4 separate regions of the Homo sapiens genome follow, and all the other regions are linked to region 4. Evidence: promoter capture Hi-C in 16 types of primary human blood cells and fetal thymus (Javierre and others, 2016). All regions are on one chromosome and are shown on one strand. The core of a region is centred on a gene start or on the middle of the fragment in contact, and the rest is flanking DNA. Distances in the headings are between cores, read along the strand shown. Region 1 holds the start of GTPBP8 (GTP binding protein 8). Region 2 overlaps NEPRO-AS1 (NEPRO antisense RNA 1). Region 3 overlaps RMP64 (ribonuclease MRP subunit p64). Region 4 holds the start of USF3 (upstream transcription factor family member 3).

Region 1 (6,779 bases), core at 1,706-4,205, 710 kb after region 4:
TTCTCCCTTCCCAGAAGACGGGCAGAGAGATTTTACTCCTGTGGCCTGGGTTGCGCGTGCGTGACTTCCCGCTGCCGCGACGCCTGCTGGGAGTTGTTGTCTCCTCTGGCCTCGCTCGTTCCGGTCTAAGTGTTTTGCCTTCAGTGCGCGGGAGGAGGGTGGAGGCAGGCGGTGACCTGCGGGGAACAGCTCACTGGGTTTCTTTAACACCGTGGGCTTAACGATTATGTCTTACTGGAAGGATGTTTAACGGTTTGCAGAGGTGAAAGACCTATCTGGCCATGTGGCCTTTGAGTCTCAAGCGAAGGACTAAAGTGTGAAGCTCCGATGCATTCCAGGAACGTTTGATTTTCACAGTTTTTGGTTATCTTATTAACTGTTGACGTTTGTCGTAAGTCCGCAGCACTAGGATAAACACTTTTGCAAAAAAGAAAAGGGCTGATGAGAAATGTGATTGTAATAGCACCTCGTTTTCGTGGAAGGGACTGTTTGTATTTCCGCCTTCACTATAGGTGCAGGAAATGTCATTAAATTTTAGAGATTTCTTATAAAAACAGTTTTGCACAGATGTTACAGAATTGTTTCGTGGACGTTTCGTAATATCATCTTATTTCAAAAGTTTCTCCCTAAAGTCGATCAGTACTGAAATGGGAGATACAGGTATCATAATGATGAAATGAATAACTGAAAAATATTCATATGTTAAAAAAACTAGGTTTTCTAAAACATCAGCAGCCCAGAAAGGGTAACTCATGGTTTCTTGAGCTATTCCCCAGGTTGTTCAGTAATTAAACAGTACAATTCTTGAATAAATATGATACAAAAATTAATGAACAGAACCTGCGACTTTGAGGGCAGCCAATACGGCAGCCTGATGTGCTGCTGGCTGGCTAATTTTTTATTGCTCTTTGCATTAGGGTTTGGGGTGCCTTTCTGTTCGCTATTCTCTCTCCTCCATGTATAAAAGTGTGTATAATACTCTGTTGTATACATCAGAAATTTGGGATTCTCATTAGTGTGTGTTTCACTCATCCATGTGAAGAGATCACCAAACAGTCTTTGTGTGAGCAACAAGGCTGTTTATTTCACCTGGGTGCAGGTGGGCTGAGTCCCAAAAGAGAGTCAGCAAAGGTGGTGGGATTATCATTAGTTCTTATAGGTTTTGGGACAGGCGGTGGAGTTAAGAGCAATGTTTTAGGGGCAGAGGGTAGATCTCACAAAGTACATTCTCAAGGGTGGGGAGAATTACAAAGAAACTTCTTAAGGGTGGGGGAGATTATAAAGAACATTGATCAGTTAGGATAGGGCAGAAACAAATCACAATGGTGGAATGTCATCAGTTAAGCTGTTTTCCCTTCTGTGGATCTTCAGGCCTTCTGGATGTATACGTGCAGGTCACTGGGGATATGATGGCTTAGCTTGGGCTCAGAGGCCTGACGCTGTGTATGTAATATACTTTGAAAGTGCTTTTATACATGCCATTTTGTTTTCAAACCTTGGAACCCCAGGTTTGGAAATAAGAGCATAAAAGAGTTTTGGCGATTCTTAGAAAGGTTTTAGAGGTGTTCCGGGATTAATAGACATTATAGTATTCATTTAATAATCATTCATGTTTCTGAATTCTAAATCATTTTGGATTTCACCTGATAGGACAAATCATTTTAGAATTATTTGACAGGACAGTTTTTGCAACAAATTGTCTTGTCATGCAAAGCTTGAAGGATCAAACGGTCTACTGGAAAGAAGTATGACTAGTAAAACCACTTGACAATTTATATATTTTTTTCTCTTTCACTTCATCTTTTAAAAGCATCTGTGTAAACAAAGCATATAAAACTTCAGGATGATTTAGAGTTAATAATACACTATGTTTTCCCTCAACATGATTAAACTCATAATTTGCAGAAGTTCAAATATGAAACATACATAGCAGTGAGACCTACTAGTGAGACAGGTGAGGGCTAGAATTGGGAGGAATTAGTTTATAATAACCCCATTGTAGGGCTGCAGTGGAAATCATCTGGTCTACAGGGAATTATCAAAGCCCAGGAAAAGAGGCTCACACCTGTAATCCTAGCACTTTGGGAGGCCAAGGCAGGAGGATCGCTTGAGCCTGGGCAACAAAACGAGACTGTCCCTAAAAAAATAATAAAAACAAAATTAGTATTGAAGGGAATCAAGTCTGGTGGATAGGATGTTGTGACAGGACTTTCTGGGTTCTGGCAATAGTACTGTGAATCTGTTGTTGTTGGCAGCATCTTGGTTCGAGGTGGTCTTTTTGTGTGTGGAGTAGGAGCTTAGCCAATAAGTGTAGATTGGGAGTCAGGATCTAGCCTGCTAGATCAGGACTAGGTCAGGGCTAAGATTCAGAATAGGGTTTTAGTCCAAGTAGGGAAAAGAAGGACTGTAGATTAGAAAATCTTGCTGTCTAATATGCGCCTCCCATTTCCTAGGTCCAAAACAGAATTTCTAATATCCTTTAATTGTCTCCTAATCTGTAAGAGACAATGGCACCTCCATTCCTCCAATTGACTTAGCTGAAAATCTTGGGAGAAAATTCTGGACTCCTTTTTCTGTTACCCCAAGTCCAAGTTGTTAGCAATCCCCTTGGCTTTACCTTGAAAACATATCCTGAATTGGATACTTTTTAGCACATCCACTGCCACCACCCTGATACAAGCCACCATTATCTCCCACCTAGATTATTGCAGTAGCTTTCAAATTGATCACCCACCTTTGCCCTTTGCCCCCTTCAGTATATTTGCAACATGGTGATAGGGAAGTGGGGCAGGGAAGTGGGGCAGGGAATTGTGAGGAGAAGGGCAGGTCCCTGGCTAGAGCTCCACCCCCGGCCTGTGCCCACGGACCTAGGTGAGGACAGGCACTTCTGGCTTTGTGCCCAAATGTTGCATTTCCCAAAGCCACCCAGGTCTGCCACACCCCCATCCTGTGCCTATAAAAACCCCGACACCTAGCAGGCAGACACACAAGTGGTTGGACCTTGAGAGGAACACCTTGGTGGAAGAAGACACGAGCTGCTGGATGTCAAGAGGACGTCGAGGGGAGCAAGCTGCCCACCAGCAGGCCATTGACCAGTAGAATGATGCAGAGTTTGGCCGGGGCGGTTGGAGGGCTGCTGAGTGGCTGAACTCCTGGGGAAAACCATCTCCCTTCTGGCTCCCCTATCTGCTGTGAGCTACTTCCAGTCAAAACCATGCACTCATTCTCCAAGCCCATGTGTGATCCGATTCTTCCAGTACACCAAGGCAAGAACCCAGGATATAGAAAACTCTTTGTCCTTGTGACAAGGTAGACGGTCTAATTAGCTGGTTAACACAAGCTGCCTATAGATGACAAAACTAAAAGCGCACACGGTAGCAGATGCCCACTGAGGCTTCAGGAGCTGTAAACATCCACCCCTAGATGCTGCCGTGGGGTCGGAGCCCCACAACCTGCCTGTCTGTATGCTCCCCTAGAGGTTTGAGCAGTGGGGCCCTGAAGAAGCGAGCCATTCCTTGTCACATGCCCTTCGAGCGGGACAAGAGTACTTTTCCCATTTCAGTGGCAGCAACCATGATCCTGTTAAAACATAAGCTAAACCTCCAAGAGCTTCCTGTCTCACTCATAGAAAAAGTTCTTGCACTAACCTAAAAAGCCCTACATGAACTTTCATTTTCTTCTTCCACTCTTGTCTGACTTCATCTATTGTTATTTTTCCCCTTTTCTACTCCATTCCAGCCACACTGGCTTCCTTGCTGTTTTTCAAGCAAGCCATATACACACACCTGCCTCTGTGTCCTTGTACTTCTCCCTGGAATGCTTACCCCAGATAATCACATGGCTTATTCCCAGTTTGACTTAGGATGTATTTATGGCCAACCTTCTGAGAAAAAGTGCCTTCTGTTTTGATAACGAGGAGGTAGTTTACCACAAAGTTAACAAGGTTTTAAAAATTTAATATGACTTTGACAGGCGTTACTTTATACATCATCCCCAGAATCAGCTTTTATTGCTAAAATTCATCTGCCCTAAATGTCATAGTTATACTCTGTCATGCTCAGCTAAGAATAGAAGGAAGATAGGTAGGACAGGATCCTCTCAATTGTTCTTACTGCGATGTCTGCCTCTATAGTGAATGGCCATTAGGTCCAGAGTGATCCCAATTTATGTCCAGGTCCTATAGGTTTCAAGCTTATGGAATCCATCTAAGACATGAAGAAGGTAAACTTTGTAGGCCTAGATAGGTAGGGGCACTGGGAACATCAGATAACTCCCATCCTAAGTTAAACATGGTTTGAATGTCCTGACAGAAGCAAGAGCAGGGACTCTAGCAAAACTTACTTCTAGAAATAGAGAGAGGGAATGGATTAGGTCTCAGTGTCTGATTTCCACTAGACCTTTCTTACCCTGACTTTTCTGCTTGTCTTAACAACAATAATGAACATTTATTGGGTGTCTGCTATGCCAGGAATTTATCTGAGTACTGATAAACTATGAGAAAGACCTGGTTACATTCCAATTAGGATATCAAACTCTTGTATTAGGAAGAAAATATTGGGAGAAAGGAAGATGAAAGAGGCTTTATATGAAGGAGCATGATATGGGAGAAACTTCCACATAAATTACTTAAATTGTGATGACTACTATCTGAATGAATGATTTAAATTTAAAATACAATTAATTATATTTTTCTTGAGTTTTCTGTGCAACATTCATTTTAAAATTTTACTTTAGATATTACCTGACACATTGACACAAATTTGTGGCACAACAAGTTTGATTTGTTCACCTAATTTCTTTCTTTTTTTTTTTAGAGACAAGGTCTCGCTCTGTTGCCCAGGCTGGAATGGGCACAATCATGGCTCACTGTAGTCTCAACCTCCTGGGCTCAAGTGATCTTCCTGCCTCAGCCTCCTAAGTAGCTGAGACGACAGGCACTCAACCACCCTTGGCTAATTTTACAAAGTTTTTTTGTGTGTGTGTGCTTTTTTTTTTTGGAGAGACAGAGTCTCACTATGTTGCTGAGGTCAGTTTTGAACTCCTAGCCTCAAGAAATCATCCTGCCTTAGCCTCCCAAAATGTTGGGATTACAGGCATGAGCCACCACGCCCAGGCTTAATTTCTTAATTAGGGCATAAATTATTATTCTTGAGATTTATTATTTTACTATAATTCAAGAACCAATAGAGACCTATTTTCCATGATTTTAGTCTTTGGAGCTCATGAAAGCATTGAGCTTTTTAAATATCTGATTAATGTGTCTTTAGAGAATATATCTAAATTTAGAGAAGTTGTTTCTTTTTCAGAGAAGTTGTTTGAGCTTTCTTTTAAGGTTGTGCCTACTGCACTGACAGATTTCTCTAAAGAGATCTGGAGATTAACCATCAGACAGTAATCATAGGTAGGAGGTGAGTTTGTAGAGTGATTTGGATTCTGGAGGAGGAGTAAAGGTTCACTTCTTTCAAGGTTGTTTTTATCAATAGAGGGAGAAATGATTGCTTTAAGTGGTCTTAATTTTTTTCATTCGTAATTTTGCATTTGGCTCTGTGTCATACAAGTGCTATTAAAATAATTTGGAACACTATTTACCATATTCAGGTTGTGTTTTTATATCAGTAACAAGCTCAGAGGGTTTTTTTAAAATTGTTTTTGGAAAATAGTATGGATTTTGCTGTTCTGACTGATTAATTCGTTAACATTTTAATTCTTGTTGTGTGTTAAGCAAGGTTATTTTAGTGGGCAAGTTTACTTTGTAGTACACATCTAGTTTATATCTTGTTGCCTTGTTGGAAGTGAATGGAATGTTCTCTAACACCCTGAGGAGATGAGGCAACATTCACAGGCAGATATATTGATGTATATTCAAATTTTTAACTTATTCATAGGTAGAGTGTGTCAGGTGTTCCCAAGACTAGCTCCCAAATGAGGCGAGCAAGGATGCACAGAACTCAGCATATAGTTGTACTTATGCCTATAATTTACAACAACAAAAGAATACAAAGCAAGCCTGGCAAGGGGAAAAGGCACTCAAAGTGAAGTTTGGAGGAAGCCAGGCACAAGCTTCTAATTGTCCCCTAAGTTGCACAGGATGCAATTAATTCTGCCAGCAATGAGTTTTAACAACATGTGTGAAATGTTGTCTACTAGCAAAGCTCACCTGAGTCTAGGAGTCCAGGGTTTTTACCGAGCGCTGTTCATATAGGCATCTAGTGCCTGTGTGACTGACTATAGTCACTGAAAGTTCAGATTTGCAGAAGGAAAGCAGCATCAGTATGTACCACTTGTTTGTTCAAATAGTTTAGATACAGTGAGCCACTCATGAATGGAAAGTTGGCTCTGTGCCATGCAAGGAAACTGTTTACCAGTCAAGTTCTCAAATGTCAGCCCAGTGCCAATCTTGTAAACAAATCTTTCTAAGGGTAGCAGCCACAGGCCTGCTATATGAACTGTTTTCTGCACATAGATTAAAAGATAAAAACATTTAAAAATGAGAAGTTTCTCACCTGCACTTATTGTGAGATTGTATACTTGTAGGAAAGATGTATTCCAGGTTCTGCTCTAAATACAAGTGATTTCTCTGGAGATTTTTGAGAAAAGTGGGACAGACTTTCTCTAGTCATTTTAATAGGACATGGCAAAACTAGAATTCTTCCTGTGGAAGGAGGTTATAATCAAAGCTGCTGTCTCAGCCACCTGTAATAAAGTATGGGGCCTCTGGAGAGGAGTGCAATGAATTGGTGATTCAACTGGTATGAACATCAGGTTTAGCTGGAGTTGAG
Region 2 (6,707 bases), core at 3,528-6,027, 640 kb after region 4:
GTGGACAGATATGGGTTTTCCAGTTAGAAAGACTTGGTCTTTAATCTAGGCCTTGTGTACCAGTCCAATCCTAGGTTCCTTCCCTATCTGTTCCTTGTCTCAGTTTCTTCATATGTAAAACAGGGATAATCACACCCATCTAGCAGGAAGGTTGTGAAAAATAAAGACAGACACGCAGAATACACAGTAGGGGTTCAGTAAATAGACTCACCAGTATTGCAAAGTATCACATATTCACATTAAACTGATTTCCACCTGAAACAGCATTTCATGGAGCCATGGCTTTTTAAGGCAAAGCTATGCTAGAGAGATAGCCAGATTCAAAACAGACTTTCTTTTTTCCAAAAAAAAGTCACGAGGGGCTTTTTACAGTAACTGCATCTGTGGCTCTCTGCTTTCTGGACCACACACTCTACGATTTAGGAAGTCATTCCGTTCCCAACTGAAAATTATCTCTTGGGCTTGGTCCCTTTCTTCTCTCAGTTCCCCATCCTCCCACTCTTTTTTTCTGCTATTCAGAACTGCATATGGGTTTTGAGAAACCTATTTGCATTTCAAATTCATTTCATGGCTATGATTGTTCTCATTTGCTTTGACTTCACATGTAGCCATATGTGCAGTTTTTCACTCATCTTGTGCAGCCAGAAAAGAGGACCAGACTTCCTTGGGACTCTCCCTCCTCTCATTAATGAATGATGCTATAAGCAAAAGTCAGCTTCCACCAGTGGGGAAAATATTATTCATTCTTGTGTTCATCTCTCCATTCATTCACTTGCGCTTTACCCTTTGAGCACTTAATATGTGTTAGCCATGTTCCCAGACACTGGGAATTTAGAGATAAATTATGATCTTTATCCAATTAGAAACTCAAGAACTAGTGAGAGAGACAAATGAGAGAACATAAAATGTCAAATACAACAAGGTAAATATTTTTAGAACGGTTGTGGAGTTGCAGGGAGACAGGATGACTCCCATGAGTTTTGTTTCCACCTGGGTGAGCCGGAGAAGGGAACATTTGAGCTGAGTGTTGAAGGATGCAAAGGAATTTTCTAGAAAAAGATACCTCCATCTGAAAGGAATCCTGGGACCTCACTGCTGCTTTTCAATCCTTTAAATATCTTGTCAATTCCCTGAGACATTTATCATGTGTGTGGAACTCCAGCTTCACAAACCCCATGGCCTTGGCTCACCATCTACCCTCTTGCTCCAGTAGAGTGAAAATGTCTAGAGGTGGGTCCTTTCACTCTCTTCATTGCCTTAGTTATGTGATTCCTCACTCCTAACCTGTTCTTTCCTTCTCTCTCAGGGGTAGATACCCTTATTCCTTCCAAAGGCAGCCCTTCCTCAGGGAGGCCAATCCCAGCACACCTGCAAGACTTTGCTTATTCAGTTTTCTCTCTTAGTGCTTCAAAATCTACTTTCCAGTTCCTTACCCTCCTTCAACAAGCAAGGTTCAGTCTTGCACAACCTGAAAACAAACAAAACTTTTTTAAACTCTGCAATTCCCTCAAGATATTCGGGTACCTATCACCTTCCTTTTACTAACATACTTGTTGAGGAAATTGGTTTCTTCACTCTCAGCTGTTACATTCTCACCGCTCCTTCAAGCCTGATCTAACAGCTTTTAGCCCCTGCTCCCCACTGAGTCTCATCTCCCAAAAGTCAGCAGATATCCAATCCACAAGTCTACTGGCACATCTCCAGCCCTCATACTCACCAACTTCTGCATCCTTTCAATTCTTGAAATGTTCACGTTATTGAAACCTCGTTCCCTCCTGGCTTTTGTAGCACTGTTCCTCAGCTACTCCCTTCCCCACCAGTCCGTCTTCCCTTCTCTTTTCACAGACCCTACCCCTCAGTCATCCCCTAATGATCCTTGGCCTCAGCTAGATGACTGGCTCCCAAACCCTGTCTCCAGGTCCTTCGGCTTCTCTGAGCCTCACTCTCACATTTCCAATTATTTCTGTGATATTTTCCTTGAGGTAGCTCACTGGCTTCTCAAATGCTGACTTTCTTTCTTTCTCCCCCAAGCCTTTATATTTTGATGACCCCAGCACCCACTCAGGATTGGAATGATATTATTCATTCCTCACTCCTCTCTTCCCCTTGCCCCATTTCCAATTAGGCACCCAATCCCATTTCTGTTACTCCAAAATGGTCTTTGCCATCTTTGTTATTATGGTTTCACCTTGCCCTTGAACCACCATGGGTGTCTGATGGTGCATCTTCATTATTTCCCAGCCCAGATGAGTTCATCTTTCTAAAGTTTGACTCTGCTGCTGTCAAAATCCATTCTCTTTCTGAATTTACCCACACTTTTGTCTGGATATTAACTCAGTGTTTTCAAGACAATCTCTGATTTTTCTCTTCAATGTAACAAATTCTTACTCAATACTTAGTATGAGTATGTGCAAGTCACTGTATGAGGAGCTGCAGAAGTAGAAAGAGGAAGAAGTCTTTGCCTTCAAGGAGTACAATCTAACTTTAAGAGGAGACCATTGGGGATAAGACAGAAAGTTAGGAGAGTTAGAAAAGAAGATAAAAAAGCAAGGGCTCTCTCAGAAAGAAGAAACCACAGCATGTGTGTTGCATGTGTGTTTTGTGTGTGTGTGTGAGTGGTGTGTGTGCATGGTGTGTGTGTGTCCAGGACTGTGAAAAGTAGAGGTGGTGTTTGAGGAGGATTTTGACAGGGAGAAAGGAGAGCAGAACTTTCCAGGTGAAGAAAACAATTTCCACAGTGATGTAGAGATGGGAAAATACCATGCATATTTGGAAAAATAGTAATCCAGATTTGTGGGAACATAAGGTCTAGTGAGATCTAGTCTAACCAATTAATCTACATGATGAGAACTAAAATCCACATGTTTCTTTAGGAAATATAGTAAATGGTATAGCTTAGGACTTTGTCTTACACTTTAACAAAGCAGAGTGCTGTATATATTTATTTGTCAGATCACACACACACACACACACACACACTCTCTCTCTCTGTCTCTCTCTCTCTCACAGAGACATGCATGGACAGAAAACCATGCTGGGTAGTATAGTTACACAGACCTTGCTCTTGAGAAATAGCCTCTCGGGAGAAGGAGGGAAGGGTGAATAAATAATTGCAACATCATATGGTCAACACTATTAGTACAAGTAAAGATGTGTGCAATGCCCACAGCAGCCTAGAGGAGGGAAAGTTGGCATAGATTGTAAGGAAAGCTATGTAGGATAGCATTTGATTTAGGCCTTGGAGAATAAATACAAGTTTGTCAATGGAAAGGGGGAAAGCAGGGTGTTTTAGGTCAAGGGAACAGGAGTGAAAGGTGTGTGTGGTGTGGTGGGGGAGTGTGGGTAGAGCTTGAGAAAATGTGTTCATAGCAGGGAAAGTTGTCTTGTGGGACAGAGCAGTAGTCCTCAGTGCTGGTGATTTTGCCCCCCAATGGTTCTTCATGGGGGTGATTTTGCCCCCCAGGGTACATTTGACAATGCCTACAGACATTTTTAAATTGTCACACTCTTGCACGGGGAGGGTATGTTCTACTGGTATCCAGTGGATAGAGGCCAGAGATGCCACTAAATATCCTACAATGCACAGGATAGTTCCTACAACAAAGAATTCTCCCCTTCAAAATGTCAACAGTGCCAAGGTGCAGAAACCTCTGGCTAGAATGTAGTAGTCCCAGAAAGAAGCAGAAGGAAATAAGATTGGAAAGATAGATTGGTGTTAATTTGTAAAATGCCTTAAATGCCATATAATATACTGAAGGTTTCCAGAAAAGGTAAACATTGTATTTTCATTGATTTAATTAGTCTCATTCAATTAAACAATATTTGTTTATAGTATAATTCAATAAAAAGTGATAATGCTTATAGGTGACAAAAGAGAATTTTCTTTACAAAATTCTATAATTTTAAGCCTTGAGGTCATTTGAACAGAGACTTTCTAATGGAAAAGCATCTATTTGAATCCTTTCCCTGGTTAGTAGCTGGATTCCTCTGCCTCCGGCCACTCCTCCTGCCTCCACTCAAGGTATCATGGTTATTCATTGAAGCTTCTGGCTGAGTTGGCCCATAAAGCACAGGGCTGCTCAGGCGGACCTGGTCTCTTTAAGACTGTGACTAGGAACTCATCACTTGTTTAGAGTCACAGCTAGGTGTGGGTTCTCAGGAAAGACTGGCTGTGGTCCAGGACTAATACAAGATGTTTTGAACAGAAGTCTGGGGATCACTTTTTCTAAGCCTTATTTGTGTTGGAAAAGTTGAGTTCATATTATCATCACTTAATTGAGTCCTTTTTTCCCATACTCTTCCATTAGGAACCCCTGCGTCACCCCCTGAGTGGGGTATTAGACCCACTTTATAATGAAGAGGTTGATAATTGGCAGGAAGTTACTTAGGAAATACAGTGCCATCTAAGCCTATTTTCAACCTTTTGAACAAAGGTATCCGCCCAGAAATAATTTCCCAATGTGAAGGGGAGGAAGAAGATTATAGGGCACACCCTTCCTTCAGATTAAAGAAGGCTGCTTACTAAAGTTTGTACACTAGTGGTTCTCAAATCGTTAAGCTCAGGGAACATTTTCAAAATACTGGGATTTCTGATGGCACACTTAATGGGATTAAATGGAATCCACTGTGATTATCATACTACAATGGCATTCATACATTAAAGTTAAAAGGATACAACCTATGTGCCCAGAGAGAAAGAGAGGTTACAATTGAAAAAGTCAGACCATCCTCCCACCTTTCCACTCAGAAAGTGTATGCCCCATGGTAGGTTTGCCAGGTAAAATACAGGAGGCCAAGTTCATTTTGAATTTCAGATACATAATGAATATTTTTGAATATAAGTTTGTCCCATGCTAAACTCATTTATCGGAAATTCAAATGTAACTGAATACCTTGTATTTTTATTTGCTAAATCCAGCAACCCTCCTGAGAGAGCGTTAGATGGGAGTCTTCCATTCATTCCACCAGTATCTGTGCCCACACACTTCTCCTGGGTGAGCTTCTTGCTCCTTTAGATATGATTGTTGTTAACGATGCATACAACATGGCCCCTAAATCCAAGCCAACTACTTCAGCTAGTGTCAACCTAAAGAAATCACAATCTGTGTTAATGCTGGAGGGACTTACTGAGAGACGGTATGTTTGTCTCTGATATGGTACATTCCCTAAGTGTTTTTGTTATTTGGCAAACATTAATTGAGCATCAGAAATGTTCCGGGCACTTAGGATGGAACAAGAAACTAAACATTGCTGTTCTCATGGTGCCTACATACTTGTGGGAGGAGACTGTTCGATGCTCATTTTTATCCCAGAGTTGACCTGAGTTAGATGTGAGTTCATGTATCAGCTGCAACACACTTTAGGACCTTGTTATTTGAATACCTCTGCTTTCTGCCCTGATTATGTTTTCTCGTATATTCCTGAGGCAAAGTTCTTTCTATGCCAGCATCTCCCACAGTAGACCTTATGAAGATAGACAGCAATAAATACTGGTGTAAAAGATAAAGCTTTTAGGAACATGACTCTCTTAACTGAAAACTTTTTGTGTCTTGGCATGTGTGCATGTGCTTATGTGTGTTTGTGAGTATACAGATAATGCACAAATAATGGGTTTCCTGGAAATGTTGGTTGTACAGAGACTATCTTTCTTGATCATTTTTGTCCCCAAAGCAAGCACTTGAAAGAATTCAGTAACAACTTCTTGAGCAGAAAAGATGGCCTCTGCTCAGAGCTTGGTGCAGCAGCAGACACTGAAATGTGGCTTGGCTCTGTCTCTTGGCATAGTTCTAGGGTGTTATGTTCCACGAGAGGCCTTGGAGGGAGGAGGCACTGGTACCTTTTCAGAATCTCGTCAAATCAGGCACAGACTTGCTGGCAGCCACAGCAAAGGGATCTTACTGATCTTTGCCCAACTCTCAGGAGGTAACTGGCAAGACAGAAGAAAGCAAAACAAGCAACCAAATCCGAGGCCTTATAAATTTGACTTGGAAATTTTGTCTCAAGGCTGTCAAAGAGTAGAAATAATGATTTCATTTTCTCCAAGTCCCATTCTTGGGCATTTCGTATTTAACGCAGATAAAACACATTCGAGTACCTATCAACTTTTTTTCTTTCTTTTTTTTTTTTTAGTCTAGCCGTTCTCAGCATCAGGTGACTCTGCTCCTTGAAAATACATTTAAGTGATGCCATTCCTGTCCAAAACCACCACTGACTCCTTCTTCAGAGGGCAAGCCTTGAAATCATGTGCATTTGCCTGTGAGACGTTTCTCCGATTATCTGAAAATCTTCTGCCAGGGATAAGGCGATTTGTCTCCATTCTGTCTGAGGTTGCGGATCTTGGTTTGCAGAGGAGGGCTGCAACGTAGTAGGTTCCTCCACGTGGCTTCTCACTGAAGCCAGAATGACTCATTTAGAGAGTAATCTTGGTGCGGCCTCTTGCTGCCCTCTGGTGGAGAAAACGGGTATTGAACAAGCCATAACGACTGATCTCTGAGGCAAATGCTGTGAAGTGTCAGCGCAAAGGTCCACGGGGAATAATTACACTTCAAGCTATTATCTAAATGAACGGAGTTCATCTAAATGAATGGAGTTGGAACGGTTGTTCTATGAGAATCTGATTTCTCAGCAAGAGAAGTTTTAATTCCATCCCCTTTTTATTTCTGTTTGCTGCGAACTGGTTTCTCATTTCTCCACACTTGCTCTTCCTT
Region 3 (6,190 bases), core at 2,965-5,464, 690 kb after region 4:
AGTTGTATGGTGCAGGAGCAAAAAACTCAAGGCTCAGGCCATTTTTCTGGGTAACAAACTTCTTAAAAGCAACCGGCTTAAACATCTGGAAGCTCAAGGTACTAGGTAGGTATATTGCAAAAATTATGTTACTTTACTTTTTCTGTTGTTGTTATGAGTAAAAGTATTCAGGTCACTTTTCTTTAAAATGTGATGTCCAGCAGCCGCAGCGGGGCTAAATTGGGATGTACTCAAACTGCAATTGCATTTGCTGCTTTTATTGTAAGAGCAAAGCTGTATCATTGGAGGAAGAAGATAAACAAGTTAATTGGACTTCAGTCCCCGTTATGCTCTTCATCATTTCCATCAGCTCATTCAGGAACCATTAAGAGTGTCTAGTGTGCTGAGCCTGAGGATACAACTGCATAAAGACGTGACTTGGTCTTCAGGGAGCTCAGGGTCTTCTGGGAAAGGCAGCCCTTCTGCAGACAGCTTCAGTGCAGTGCAGTGGGATAAGGGCATGAGAGCAGAAGCAGAAGGTGCCTGCCTTCCATGAGGCCCACACAAGACTGCTGGGGTGTTGTACTGTTGCTACTTGCTACTGTTTGTAGCAGCTGGACTCTATCTATATTTCTTTTCTGTGATTTTTATATTCACAACTGTTTAAGGGTGCTTATCTTTGCTTGTGAACCAGTATTGCATGAAGTATTACATGAATTTAGACATTAGACACTTCAGGGCTTAACGGTAATGATTTCAGACACAAATATGTATTAAGAGCCTATTCCACCTTCACAGAGGCAATTATTCTGACCTGTTTTTTATTGTATTCTTTAACAAATATCCTGTGCATGCCCCATAATTTCTTATCCATAGTTTAGAGCTATTCAGGGATTTAAAGTTCATTCCTGGGGATGAACCACGTATTGAAAATTTGTTAAATTTTCTTTTAAAATTTGCATAAAATATATTCCTGTTTTAGAAAAAAAAAAGTATACAGTGAGGGTTTTGTAACACATTTTGATTAAAAGCTATGGGGAAAGTGGTTGAATATTCCTGAGGGATAAAGTGCTTGAGGGGTTTTTACATTGAGATGGCTCCTCTAAAGGTCTGTAATAATCTAAAAGTGATGTATCCTATGGCTGGAGACGCAGCCTGAGATGGAGAGAAGCATTCTGTTTAAAATTGGGTTTAAAATCAAGGGTAGATGAGGCAGAGGTAACAACTAAAAGTTAATGAGAAGGGTAGCAAACTGGTGTTTATTGGTTAAACCATTACTCAGTACTCCCCCAGATATAGTGCTCCTTCATAGATTGCCCTGTTTTGCTGTTTCATTAATATATTTGTAGTAAACTTTATAATTTATTTAATGTCCATAATAACATTGTGAGGTAGACAGTATTATTCCCATTTCATAGATGGGTAAATGGAGGATTTTGCTCAAGGGGTTAGATGTGGAACTCAGTTCAGGCCCTCTGTTTTCCTTTCAACTCTGAAGTACACCCACCTTCTCCCCACTTAAAAGCCACTGCTTATAGTGAGATAAGAAAATGGTATGGAAGCAAAGATCATGATTTACTTTATTATAATGGGCTTCCTCAAAGTTTTATATCCATGCCCGTCTTTTAAAATCTATCACAAACAGTGAAACAATTCAGCAAGGCACTGATGAACCTTGTGGCAGTGTACCGTGTGTGGAAGCAAAACACCTAAAATGATCAGCTGTTTGATTTCTGAATTTCCAAACTTGAAGATGACATATGAATCATAATTAGGGTAGCTTAAGGCTGTCTGTGTATCTGGGCCAGAAGCCCTGTCTTCATATTGTTTTATAAACCCCTCTTAGCCTTTATTCCTTTTTCCTTGTTCATTTCCTGCCACAGCATGAAGCTGATTATCCAGATTCGGATTAATACGTACTGGCAGATTTTTTCATTTGTGATGTTTCCTCATGTCCACTCATTACATTATGAACAGATTAGCAGTTATGAGGGAAAAGCTCTGACACTAAAGTATAGGGTATCTCGCCATTCAGCTAATTGCTAGGCGGCTGTACTTTTGAGAGTTTGAAAGCAAAATGGGGACACATTCGTCTACACTTCAATCAGAGGGCATTTGTGCTCTCAAAAAACAGACTTGGGGTGAAATTTTTCGATGTGGTTCTGGGATTGTACACAGGCATAGGACTTGTAGATAAGTTGTGTATTTTTCTTTTCAGTTGGTAAATTAAAAGTGCTTGAGAATGTTTTTCTCATCTTAAGCCCAGATTTTTCCTCTCTCTGTCTTTTAAAGTTTGCCAAAGAAACTAGAGTGCATAAAAACGTCTATTTGCAACCACCTTCTTCGTGGCTCAGGTATCAAAACTTCAAAGCATCATCTGAGACAGAGAAGATCACAGAATAAATTTTTACGGAGACAAAGGAAACCACAGAGAAAGTTGCAGTCGACTCTTTTAAGGGAAATTCAGCAGTTCTCTCAAGGGACTCGGAAGAGTGCTACAGATACCAGTGCTAAGTGGAGACTCTCACACTGTACTGTGCATAGAACTGATCTCTACCCTAACAGTAAGCAGCTCTTGAATAGTGGAGTTTCAATGCCTGTCATACAAACTAAGGAGAAAATGATTCATGAAAATCTTAGAGGCATCCATGAAAATGAAACTGATTCGTGGACGGTGATGCAAATAAATAAAAACAGTACATCAGGAACCATTAAGGAGACAGATGACATTGATGATATTTTTGCTTTAATGGGAGTTTAGATGTTCGTTCATATGTGAGACTTTTAAGTGATTAACAAGGCTAGTTCAGTGTTCTAAGTAGAACTGCTAAGATCTGGAAGTACCACCTGGACTCACAGAGGAGCTGCTTTAGTGCAGCATTGCACAGGAGTTCATTTCAGTTCAGTCTACATTTAAAGTAGCATTGTGTCATTTCATCAACAAGTATTTCTTTTTTGGCTTCAACTACATGTCAGGTGTTAATATGAAAAATCTGCCACAGCCTACCCTTGAGAAGCAGATGTAATTCCTTGAGTGAGGCTAGTAAGTCTCTGAAAAACTGAATAATTTTATGACTTACTAGGCAATTTAATAATCGTTTGCAAAAACCATTGTGTCTTGAGGTAAATGAGGAGCGGGGGTGGGAGATAGCAAGGAAACACCTGAAAGGTCAATTTGGTCTTATTGGCTCCATTATACATAGGTCCGCCTCTGAATACTAAAGTTTGTAGCTCCTGACATTTATGTTTTCTTGTTTATATGTTGGAATTGATCAACAAGGTTTGCCACTGCTTGTATTACCAGGGACTGGTTACAACCATTATTTCTCTTCATTTGCTTGGCTTATCTCATATTAAAGTGAGTTTGGAGTTCTCCAAAACGTTTTAATTTTATTTATTTGGGTACCAGTGATTGATTCCAAATAAACCTTTTTACAAAAAGGCAATAAGGTGGTTTATGGTTACATATGAAATATAATAGGATAACAGGTAGATGAGAAAGTAAAATGAAAAAATGAGGTTAGGAGATACAAAGTAGACCCAGGAATGAGGCTAGAACATTTATAATTTGGTGTTGATGCTGTCATCTGATAGGGGATGTTGCTCGTACTGTTGCTCTGAGGGGAGTACATCTTGAGTATTTTCAAATAATGATGTGAAGTTTGAGGTAGGTATCTTTCCAATGTTCTAACTTTACTAGAATTAGGTTATTAAGCTTCTCTAGTGCCCTTAACTTTTGTTACATAGAGATTTAAAGAAAAAGAAAGTAGTACCTTAGTATGTACCGCATCCTTCTTTTCCTCAGCCACCCTATCATAACAGAAGTTATTTCCCTTCCATTCTTTATTTGGCTTTGTTCTTTCCCTGTCTGCCTTCTCCATTTTCTCAGTTATCTCTACCAGTGGTTCTCAAACTTTAGACTTTTTGAGAATCACCTGGTGGGTTGCTAAAAGATGCAGATTAGCCCTTTCCCAGAGACTGATAAACAGGGGCCAGAAACCTGCATTTTTAACATGGAGCCCAAGTGATTTTGATCCAGGTGGCCCCCAAATCCAGTTATATAAACACTACTTTAGCTTCTCTCCTGAAGCCTTAAGTAAACTGGTTTAATTCTTAATCTGTAGTCAGTTTTCATATTCCTTTTGGCTTTCTACCAAGTGGTAGTATCCATTTAGTGCCTTAAAATACAGACAATACCAAGGAGATTTCATTCTAGACAAGTCTAGAAATGGCCATTAACTTCTAAGTGTCCTTGTGTTCAATGAATATCCTTTACCTATTGGGAAATAGAAGGTAAATTAGTAAGAGAACTGGTGTATAGCTTTGTGGACCATAGGGCTTATTTGCTGAGAGTTGTCTATATTCATGCACCCAGTCCCCTAAGTAGCCTCTTTTAATACTTCATTTAGCTGATTCAGAAAAAAACTCCCTGGGAATTAGGAGATTTAAGGTTCAGTCTTGCTTCTCCTACTTGTGGCTTCACTGAGCTAGTCAGTTTCCTCAGGCTTAGGTTTCTGGATTTGAAGTGGAATTTTTTCAAGAATGAAACTTTTATAGCTGAAATAAACTTTGGAGCTTATCTTTCATTGGAAAAACCAGGGTGGTTCAGTGAGTTAAGGACAATATAGCATGGACTGGGCTGCCAGTCTAGCATTTGTTTCCAAATTCATTCATGTTCTTTTGGAGTATCTTCATCTCCTCTCATTTTCCCATCTTCTGCCCTTTACTATTCTGGGAAAATGGCAAAAAAGCTTCACATGTGTCCACAAAATGACAATTTGTATGTTTATAAGGAATTCAGTATTCTGTATCAGTTACTTTTTCCAAATAAATCCAAATATTTAACATTTAAAAAAATGCAATCTAAAGTATACCAAACTGTAACTTACCTAGTAAATGAGATTAGAAACTATTGTCAGGGTCATCGTAGTGAATTATTATTATTATTATTTTTTGAGACAGAGTCTTGTGCTGTTGCCCAGGCTGGAGCACAGTGGTATGATCTCAGTTCACTGCACCCTCCACCTCCTGGGCTCAAGCTATTCTCCCACCTCAGCCGCCTGAGTAGCTGACACTATAGGCACCACCATGCCCTGGCTAATTTTTTAAAAACTTTGTGTAGAGATAGGGTTTCACCATGTTGCTTAGGCTGGTCTCAAACTCCTGGACTCAAGGGATCCACCCACTTTGGTCTCCCAAAGTGCTGGGATTACCCACATCCTAGTACCAACTTTATCACTTCTGATGGCATTAGGACACACAGGCCATTTATAAGAGCAGTGTTTGAGACCTCCTGTGTGTCACTTCCAATCCTCTTGGCCTTCATACTAAAGTCACTGCTGTGGCAACCAGTTTCAAGCAGGGCTGAACCTTGCCTCTTGCTCTGGGGATGTCTCACTTCCTGCCCCTGGGCTTCTCACCAGCTACAGGAACTGCCTAGCACTTGGGTATGTACAACCTGGAAGAGGTGTGGGGCCACCCCATCCCCTCCTCAAAGAAATTCACAGGCACAGTATGAGGCTAAAGTAACTTCCATCTTGGATGCTAATCTACCATGTTGACTTCTGATAACCAGTTCCTGGAATGCCCTCTAAGATTTCTACTTTTATCTATTAAAAGAACACACACACACACACACACTGTAAATCCTGGCCTTAAGCAAGTTATAGGCTAAGTTGTAAACAGCATTCTTGCCTTTCCCTGAGGAGGTGACTTCAGTGTCTCACATGTTCCTTCATGTACCCCCTTTTCTCTATGGCATATAAGCCCTGGGTCGGGGGGTAACTGTGGGGATCACTGCCTGAGACATGGCTTCTGTGCATAAGTCCCTATTAAATGTTTCTTTCTGACAAACTGGATTTGTTGGCCTCTTTCTTTGGCATCTCAGCACTCTCAGCCTTTGGGGGTAGGTTGCATAGACCTGGTCACTATACAACACATATTTCCTAGGACTTGTCACAAGTTCCCTCAAGATCTAGCACTAGTGCCTATGTTTTGGCTAACTCAATGAATATGTTGTTAATAGGCTTGTCTGTCTTGTTTCATTTTGCCACTGTTCCCTGGGATCACTTCCCAAATTTACATATGTAAGCTTTTGGCTCAGGCTCTGCTTATAGGAGAACCAAGGATAAATCAAAGCAGTGAAGTAACACTGGCAGACAAAAAGATGACTTCTAAGATAATTCTTTTGTTACTATATATTTTATGAATG
Region 4 (7,076 bases), core at 220-2,719:
CCTGGATATGATATTTGTTAACGAGAAATACCTTGTATTCTGAACACACTGGAAATTGTTTCCTATGGCTGAGCATACCAATACTATACAATTTTATGGTGATGTTATTAGCATTGCTATTATGGCTCTGACTCGTAGAATCTTTCTTATCTGCAGTTTTGATTTGGATGTGCCAAGTCTGTTCAAAGGCTAATTAGAACTTCGTGTGCCTAGATGGATGAGTTAAAGAAAATTTCTAGCCTGTTTATTAGTACCACAGTTTATAAGCAACATTACAGGCCTTCCGTTTCATCATAGCTTTTCAATCTGCTGTACAAACATAAGACTCCGTTACTGTTAGCCTTTACCCTTTTGCTCAATGCGATGTCTGCTGCTTCTGTATACAGGCTCAAGTAATTCCCATTATGCCATGCCCTGTGTGCACCTTCTGGAAGTTAGCCCACGGACATCTAAGATCTGGGATATTTCCAAATCTGGTTGTGGAAGGGCTTGGAAATCTATAACCGCAACTAGGTGGAGGACACCTGTTTCAGCAGGAGGTTATAAAATATGAAGCGAAACTAGGAAGAGGGAGTTGTGATCACGGTTCCAAGGGCTCCACACAGATCCTGGAGTTAAGGGGCACTCAGGTCTCCATTTCGTGACCCCTGGCCCTACCTCTCCTAGATCCAGGTATTTAGTAACCCAGGCTTGAGATCTCAAACCCCATCCCCCAATGCCAAACTCCCTTGTCCCAGCTGGGAGGCCCCCAGGGCATTTCTGAACATGGCCATCTCCAATTCACAGAAATCTGTGTGTTGTTGCAAATAAAGGATGACAAGAGACCACAGCCTACGAATGCGAGCAGCGTCAAGTCAGCAACAATCTTCCAGTTATCGAGAAGTCGGAAACGTCTGATTCTTTCTTCTCCACATTTACTAAGACGTATCTTCTCACCTTCCTGCCCTCCACGTTAAGAGGGGCTAACTATTCCGAAAGACTTCCGTGCCCTCTTCCTTTTCAATTTTTCCACTTCCAAACTCCTACCGAAAGACGAAGAAAAGAGACCACAGAAGAAGATACAAAGAAGTTTCTTAAAACACCTTCTTTTCTAGGTTCTCAAGGCGTCCCCTTTAAGGAACCAGGCCCACCTCTTTCCCATTCACCTACTGGCTTTCCTTCCTGTCCGTCACTCTACCTTTAAGAATATTTCCTGTTTCTTCAACCCAACTTGCACACCTCCGCCCCCCGGCCCTCCTCATTGGGCCGCCCGATCCCCGTTCACTCCTTGGTTTCCTCTCCGCCTCCTCCCGCCCTCTAGCGTAGTGCAACGGCATTCTGTCTTCTTATTGGCTACCACGGCAGCGTTCCCGCAGCCTGATTGGCGGGTTGAGTGAAAGAGGCGGGAACGCGGCGCGCCCAGGGTAGGCTGTTCGCTTGCTGAGCTGCGGCCGCGGGAGGGGCGGGGAGGGGCGGGGGGAGGGGGGCTGGGAAAGTTGAGGCCGCGCTGCCGCCGGGTCTCCGGCCTTGAGGGCTCGGGCTCGCAGCGGCTGCGGTGGCCGCAAAAAGAGGCGGCGGGGGCGGGGGGAGAGGAGGGCCTGGGCCCGCGCTCCCCCAGCCCCGGAGGAGCAGGCGGTGGCCGCGGACGGAGAGATTCGCCCAGACGGTCAGACACTCCTGCCTTCCCCTCCTGGGATCATGACCCAGGCGGGGGTCGCCGCCGTCGCCGCCGCCACCGCGGCCGAGACCGCGCAGCCGGCGGGTAAGTGACTGCGGGAGGGGGCCGCTGACAGCCGGGGCGGGGGGCGGGGGCCAGGGCTGCGGGGGCGGCTCCGGAGGGCGGCCCCGGGCTCAGCTCCACCCACCCCCTTCCTGCTCCGGGAGGCCAGGGCTGCGCTAAGTGCGCCTCCTTCCTGGGGACCCTTGCGTGCGGCACCTGGTGGGGCGTCAGCGCCCGCGGCGAGCGCACCCCTCATCTCCCGCCCGCCCTGCGTCCCCGGCTGCCAGGCCCGTGGGGGGCTCGCACTGCGCCCCAGCTCCTAGATGCGCGCGGGGCGAGAGGGGCCCCACGCTGCCCTGGGTGCATAAAGAGCTGGGCAGCCAGGTTCACACCAGATGGCCTTTGCCCGCCTCCTTCACCTTTTCCTGTCTTCTTCATTCCCCTTCTTTCCTTGCCCTCTGAATTTCTTTCGTACCCGTTCGTCAGACTCATGTGGCTTGCTTTTTCCCTCTCACCCCTCTGTCGAAGTGTTAGGCTTGTGTTTTCTTTTTAGAAGCCGTTCTTTTGCTTTCTGAGTAGAAGCAGTGCAAGTGAATGACCAACTCTTGAAATCTACTTTCATGTATCCGGATGAAATATAAGATTCCTGGACTCTTGTTCATGTTTACAATTTTGATAGTTGAATTCACCCCACTCGTTCTTGAAGCTTGTCCTCCCAACCCTCCTCGTTACATTGGGATATGGTCCTTTGCGTTTATTAACTTTATCTGGAAATATGAGACTGCATAAACCAAAGTGCAGAATTTCAACTTCCGTTCTTGTAACATTTTTACCATCAAGTAGATACAGTAACCTAACACCACACAGATCAAGACAGTCGTGGCCAACTGTGTAGGCAAAGAAGACATTTCCTTACCTATAAACAACGTACAGATTTCTTGAATAAATCTTACGGTGAGTTACATGGATCCTGAAACATATTCCCAGGTTTGCTCTTTTGTAAAGAAAACCAAACAGACAAACCTGCCTTTTGAAGGATCAACAGGCTGTCCTACTCTCCATTCACCTTGATGACTTTTTTCTCTCCCATAGAACTCTTGTTTAACATAGTACAGAGTTGCTGTTTGGGATACATGTGTTGTTTCTCTTTAAGTACTCAAAGTATTTGTTACAAAAGAAGTAAAATACATTGTAATTGCACTTCTGAAAGCAGAAGTAGTGTAATGTATCCATGCAAGAATGAATGCTTAATCCTAAAGCAGTTTTGCTTTAGCCTAAGCCAAGCTTTTCCAACCCCCGTCCAAGGACGGCTTTTAATGCGGCCCAAGACAAGAAGACAAGTTCGTAAACTTTCTTTTATTTTTTTTGAGACAGAGTCTCACTCTGTCGCCCAGGCTGGAATGCAGTGGTGTTATCTCAGTTCACTGCAACCTCCGCCTCCTGGGTTCAAGCAATTCTCCTGCATCAGCCTCCTGAGTAGCTGGGATTACAGGTGCATGCCACCAGCCCAGCTAATTTTTATTTCTTTAAGTAGAGACAGGGTTTCTCCATGTTGGCCAGGCTGGTCTTGCACTCCTGACCTCAGGTGATCCGCCTGCCTCTGTTTCCGAAAGTGCTGGGATTACAGGCATGAGCCGCTGCGCCCGGCCTCAAATTTGTAAACTTTTTAAAACATTATGAGATGTTTGTGTGTGATATTTATTTACTTATTTATTTAAGCTCATCAGCTATCGTTAGTGTTAGTGTATTTGATGGGTGGCCCAAGACATTTCTTCTTCCTGTGTGCCCCAGGGAGGTCAAAAGATTGGACACTCCTGGTCTAAGCTAAAAGACTTAGGTGTACATAGGTATTGGGATCTCCCTGTATTTAGGAGTTTTGCAAAATCTGGATGCAGCCTAGAACATTCGCTGATATAAAAGGAGTGCATTGCAGGGATGTAAGAGCAGCTTAGAATTGAAGTACTTATCTTCTAGGTTAGTCGTCTATGGAACATCGTGGAAGTAAAATTCTAAGGTTGTAGACCTTACACTCAATGAACCAGTCATGTATGAGAAATTGATGGGTACTTTTCCTATTTTCAGAGCTTAGCCTTGTCAACAAGGGAAAAGAAACACTAAGAAAACTGAGAATTTTTAACTCAGGTTAGAATACAAGCTTCAACAGGTAATCAGCTCAAGTTTGTTGCTTATAAACAGGGTCTTAAATCAAGCTTGAGCCTTAATCATATCTGTCATGCTTTACCTCTCTGTTCTCTAGTCCAGTAGTTCTCAATCCAGACTGTACATGAGCATCACCTTGTGTGTCTTTAAGTTTTAATGCCCAGGCCACTTCCCTCAGAAACTCTCTTATTTTTGATCTGGAGTAAAGCTCTGCCATGGGCATATTTTTTAAAGCTCTCCAGGTGATTCTGTTCAGTAGCCCTGGCTGAGAACTCCCATGAGACTACGTCCAAAAGCTAAGCTTGTGTTCTGGGCTTTCCTAAATCAGGCCTCACTCATGTGTCCAACTTTCCCCCCACTGCTTTTGCTACAGACGTTGACGTTGACCTTTCTCAGGATATGGACACCTTTCCTCTATTCCTCCCTACCGCCAATAATAGTTCTAATTACACTTTTATGAAAGTTTTCTGGATAGCTTACTCTAGTTCTTAGTGATCGACCCCCTTTGAACTTCTATGCTACATGGTTAAAAGATTCTCTTTAGGCTTACGGTATGTGGCAGTTTAAGTTCTATGTGTATGTGTTTCATTGTTCTCAAATGTTATGCTAAGGAATATTTTATTTTTCATCTCTTTCACAGTGGTTTTAAGTTGGATTGGTTTGGTTTGGAACCCTTCTGACTCTTCCTGCAACCATAGTTTTAGGTTTGATTTCATCTTAGGTATGTTAGTAGCTTCATCATACCTTAACTAGCATTGAATTCCTGTATAGACATCCGTTTTTTTCATATCTTTTCTTAATTTCATTAGTAGATGATTTATCTTCCGTGGCCCCGTAACAGTTGTACTTGTTTCTGTGCTAGCACTTAGCACACTGCCATAAGTATGTGTTTATATGCCTTCCCCACCATACTGCTAACCAGGGCCTCCATGTTGAGCAACTCCAGGGGGTACCATTCACATATTCTTGAATACCATTGCAACATGGCAGAAATAGAACTCCACTAACATAGGAAATGTGTTCTTTTTATCTTTGTATTTTTGGGACCTAACATTGTATTTGTGATTACTAGGCAGTTAATAAATGTTCTTAAATGAGTAAATGACTGCCATGTTATATATTATAAAAAGATAGCCATATACATCTTGAACGTAAGTTGATTTGGCATTAATTGATTTTGCTATTAAATATTTTTATGTCCTATACTCCTATTATAGATTTGTTAAAGGTTAGTAGAATCTAAGTGATTGTAGTTGTGACAGACCCCTTAAATATGTAATCTTCCTTCCAGTATGCACAGGCATATATGTGTCCTGAGTCTTTTACTCTGTGCTGTAAAGGTATACATTTATTATTCATAAAATATTTGTGGAACTCTTGCTAAAAGAAACGTGGTTAACTGTCCAATTGGATAATTTTTCTTTTTCTCATTAAAATTTCCATATGGGGACAATTGCACTACTTCAGAAGGCCAGATCTTTTAATTAGATCAGTAGGACATGATAAGTTGTTTCTATTAGTGTGCTAATACTGTGTTTTTAATTCAGTTCACCAAGTATTTATTATTTACCATGTGCCCAACACTGTTAGGTACTGAAGAGAATACAGAAATAGTAAATGGTGGACTCAGCTCATAAGAACGTTTTAGACTTATTAGGATTGTTTAAGGAACTCAATGGAGTATTCATTAGATGCTAAATTAAACATAAGTATGTAAAATCTATGACATAATGATTAATACAAAAAAAAGGAAAGACCAGATATTCTTTCAGCAGACATTTATTACTCAGTTACTGAGTGCTAATTGTTGAGGATACAAACATGAAATTTTTTTTCATGTTTGTATTCTCAGTAATATGAATAATATGAATTTTTTACATATTTGTATTCTCAATAATTAGCACTCAGTAATGGAGTAATAAGTTTCTACCATTTATTATAGTCTGGTGGTGAAAACTAGTAAGTATATAGATTGTATTTCATGTTAAGACATTGTGGAGTATTAGGATGTTTGGGAGTATGAAGAAGGGTATTTAGTCTAACCTCTAAGGCAGGGGTCCCCAAGTGGCCTGTTAGGAATCAGGCCGCACAGCAGGAGATGAGCTACCCTCCTGTCAGATCAGCGGCAGCATTAGATTATCATAGGAGTGCGAGCCCTATTCTGAACCACACATGCAAGGGATCTAGGTTGCATGTTCCTTATGATCATCTAATGCCTGAGATAGATGGAACAGTTTCATCCTGAAACCATCTGCTCCACTCCCTGTCCATGGAAAAATTGTCTTCCACGAAACCAGTCCCTGGTGCCAAAAAGGTTGGGACCACTGCTCTAGGGGTCAGAGAAATCTTTAAAGAGGATAATGAAGAGTTCTCAGGAATTCCTTAAACAGCAGAAACCAAAGAGAAGGAGATAAGGAGAAGAAATTGTAGTGTCACCGCTGTCTACCTCTGTGTCATTTGAGGGACCAGTTTCTCTTTGGTTATAAACAATAGAGATTGAATTTGGCTAAGCAGCAAATGGATACTGGATAAACTCACAGAAAGAAAGGGAGATAGAATAATGAAGGCTTGGGAAGGCCAGGAAAACAGAAGCTCCCAGGATCATAAGGATCCATGGGGCTAACTCAGCCTCAGCAAGATATTCTCCTTGTGCAGGGAGTCTTATTAGTTAGCCCCATGCCCACCCCAGAGGTGAGCCTGTGTTTGATGGTCCTATCAGATTTCAGGAATGGGACAGAGAAGATCTCCGAAGGAAAGGCAGGATATTATTGTCAGAAGGCCAAAACAACAGATTTATTACAAAGTTCATCGGATTTGGCAGTGTGGAAGTCTTTTGTTGAGCTTGGTTTAAGCAGTTTTAGGAATAAAAGTCAGGTAACAGCTGGTTGAAGAGTGAATAAGAAGTGAGGAAGAGGGGGTAGTAAGTGTAAACAACTTGTTCAAGAAGACTGGTGGTTGGGAGGAAGAATGGGGACACCTGTGGGGAGTTGCAAGGTCAGGAGAAAAATCAGTTTAGGTTTTTACATGGAAAAAGTTGAATAAGGATTTATTTTTATTTTTGTTGAGATGGGATCTCACTCTGTCTCCCAGGCTGGAGTGCAGTGGTGCGATCTTGGCTCACTGGAACCTTCGCCTCCTGGGCTCAAGCCATCCTCCTACCTCAGGCTCCTGATTAGCTGGGATTACAGGTTTGCAGCACCACACCTGGCTAATTTTT

Evidence for each region. Contacts are between HindIII fragments. The CHiCAGO score rates a contact against its expected background, and 5 or more counts as called.
Region 1: a fragment that was not itself captured here is called in contact with the fragment with the promoter of USF3 in region 4 in 1 of 17 cell types (fetal thymus); the score reaches 5.2 in fetal thymus.
Region 2: a fragment that was not itself captured here is called in contact with the fragment with the promoter of USF3 in region 4 in 2 of 17 cell types (neutrophils and monocytes); the score reaches 5.6 in neutrophils.
Region 3: a fragment that was not itself captured here is called in contact with the fragment with the promoter of USF3 in region 4 in 1 of 17 cell types (fetal thymus); the score reaches 6.2 in fetal thymus.

Annotation. Positions count from the first base shown.
Region 1 is chr3:112,984,222-112,991,000 of GRCh38, reverse strand. GTPBP8 (GTP binding protein 8) reads right to left here and starts at 17. Exons shown (of 6, transcript NM_014170.4): 1 at 1-17. The coding sequence starts at 1. RefSeq lists an enhancer at 1-475. The HindIII fragment of the contact is 2,477 bases long and covers 1,717-4,193 here.
Region 2 is chr3:113,051,128-113,057,834 of GRCh38, reverse strand. The region is part of intron 1 of NEPRO-AS1 (NEPRO antisense RNA 1); the gene reads right to left. LOLI1 (lncRNA oncogene in liver cancer 1) reads left to right here. Exons shown (of 3, transcript NR_189285.1): 3 at 6,130-6,707. Among named protein-coding and RNA genes, the nearest start is that of RMP64, 35 kb to the right of the region's middle. RefSeq lists an enhancer at 6,132-6,311. The HindIII fragment of the contact is 1,464 bases long and covers 4,046-5,509 here.
Region 3 is chr3:113,002,086-113,008,275 of GRCh38, reverse strand. It overlaps RMP64 (ribonuclease MRP subunit p64), which reads left to right. Exons shown (of 9, transcript NM_015412.4): 8 at 1-105; 9 at 2,272-5,832. The coding sequence ends at 2,740. Among named protein-coding and RNA genes, the nearest start is that of GTPBP8, 14 kb to the right of the region's middle. The HindIII fragment of the contact is 1,036 bases long and covers 3,697-4,732 here.
Region 4 is chr3:113,691,035-113,698,110 of GRCh38, reverse strand. USF3 (upstream transcription factor family member 3) reads left to right here and starts at 1,469. Exons shown (of 7, transcript NM_001009899.4): 1 at 1,469-1,741. RefSeq lists silencers at 1,259-1,728, 1,749-2,138. The HindIII fragment of the contact is 8,785 bases long and covers 1-2,407 here.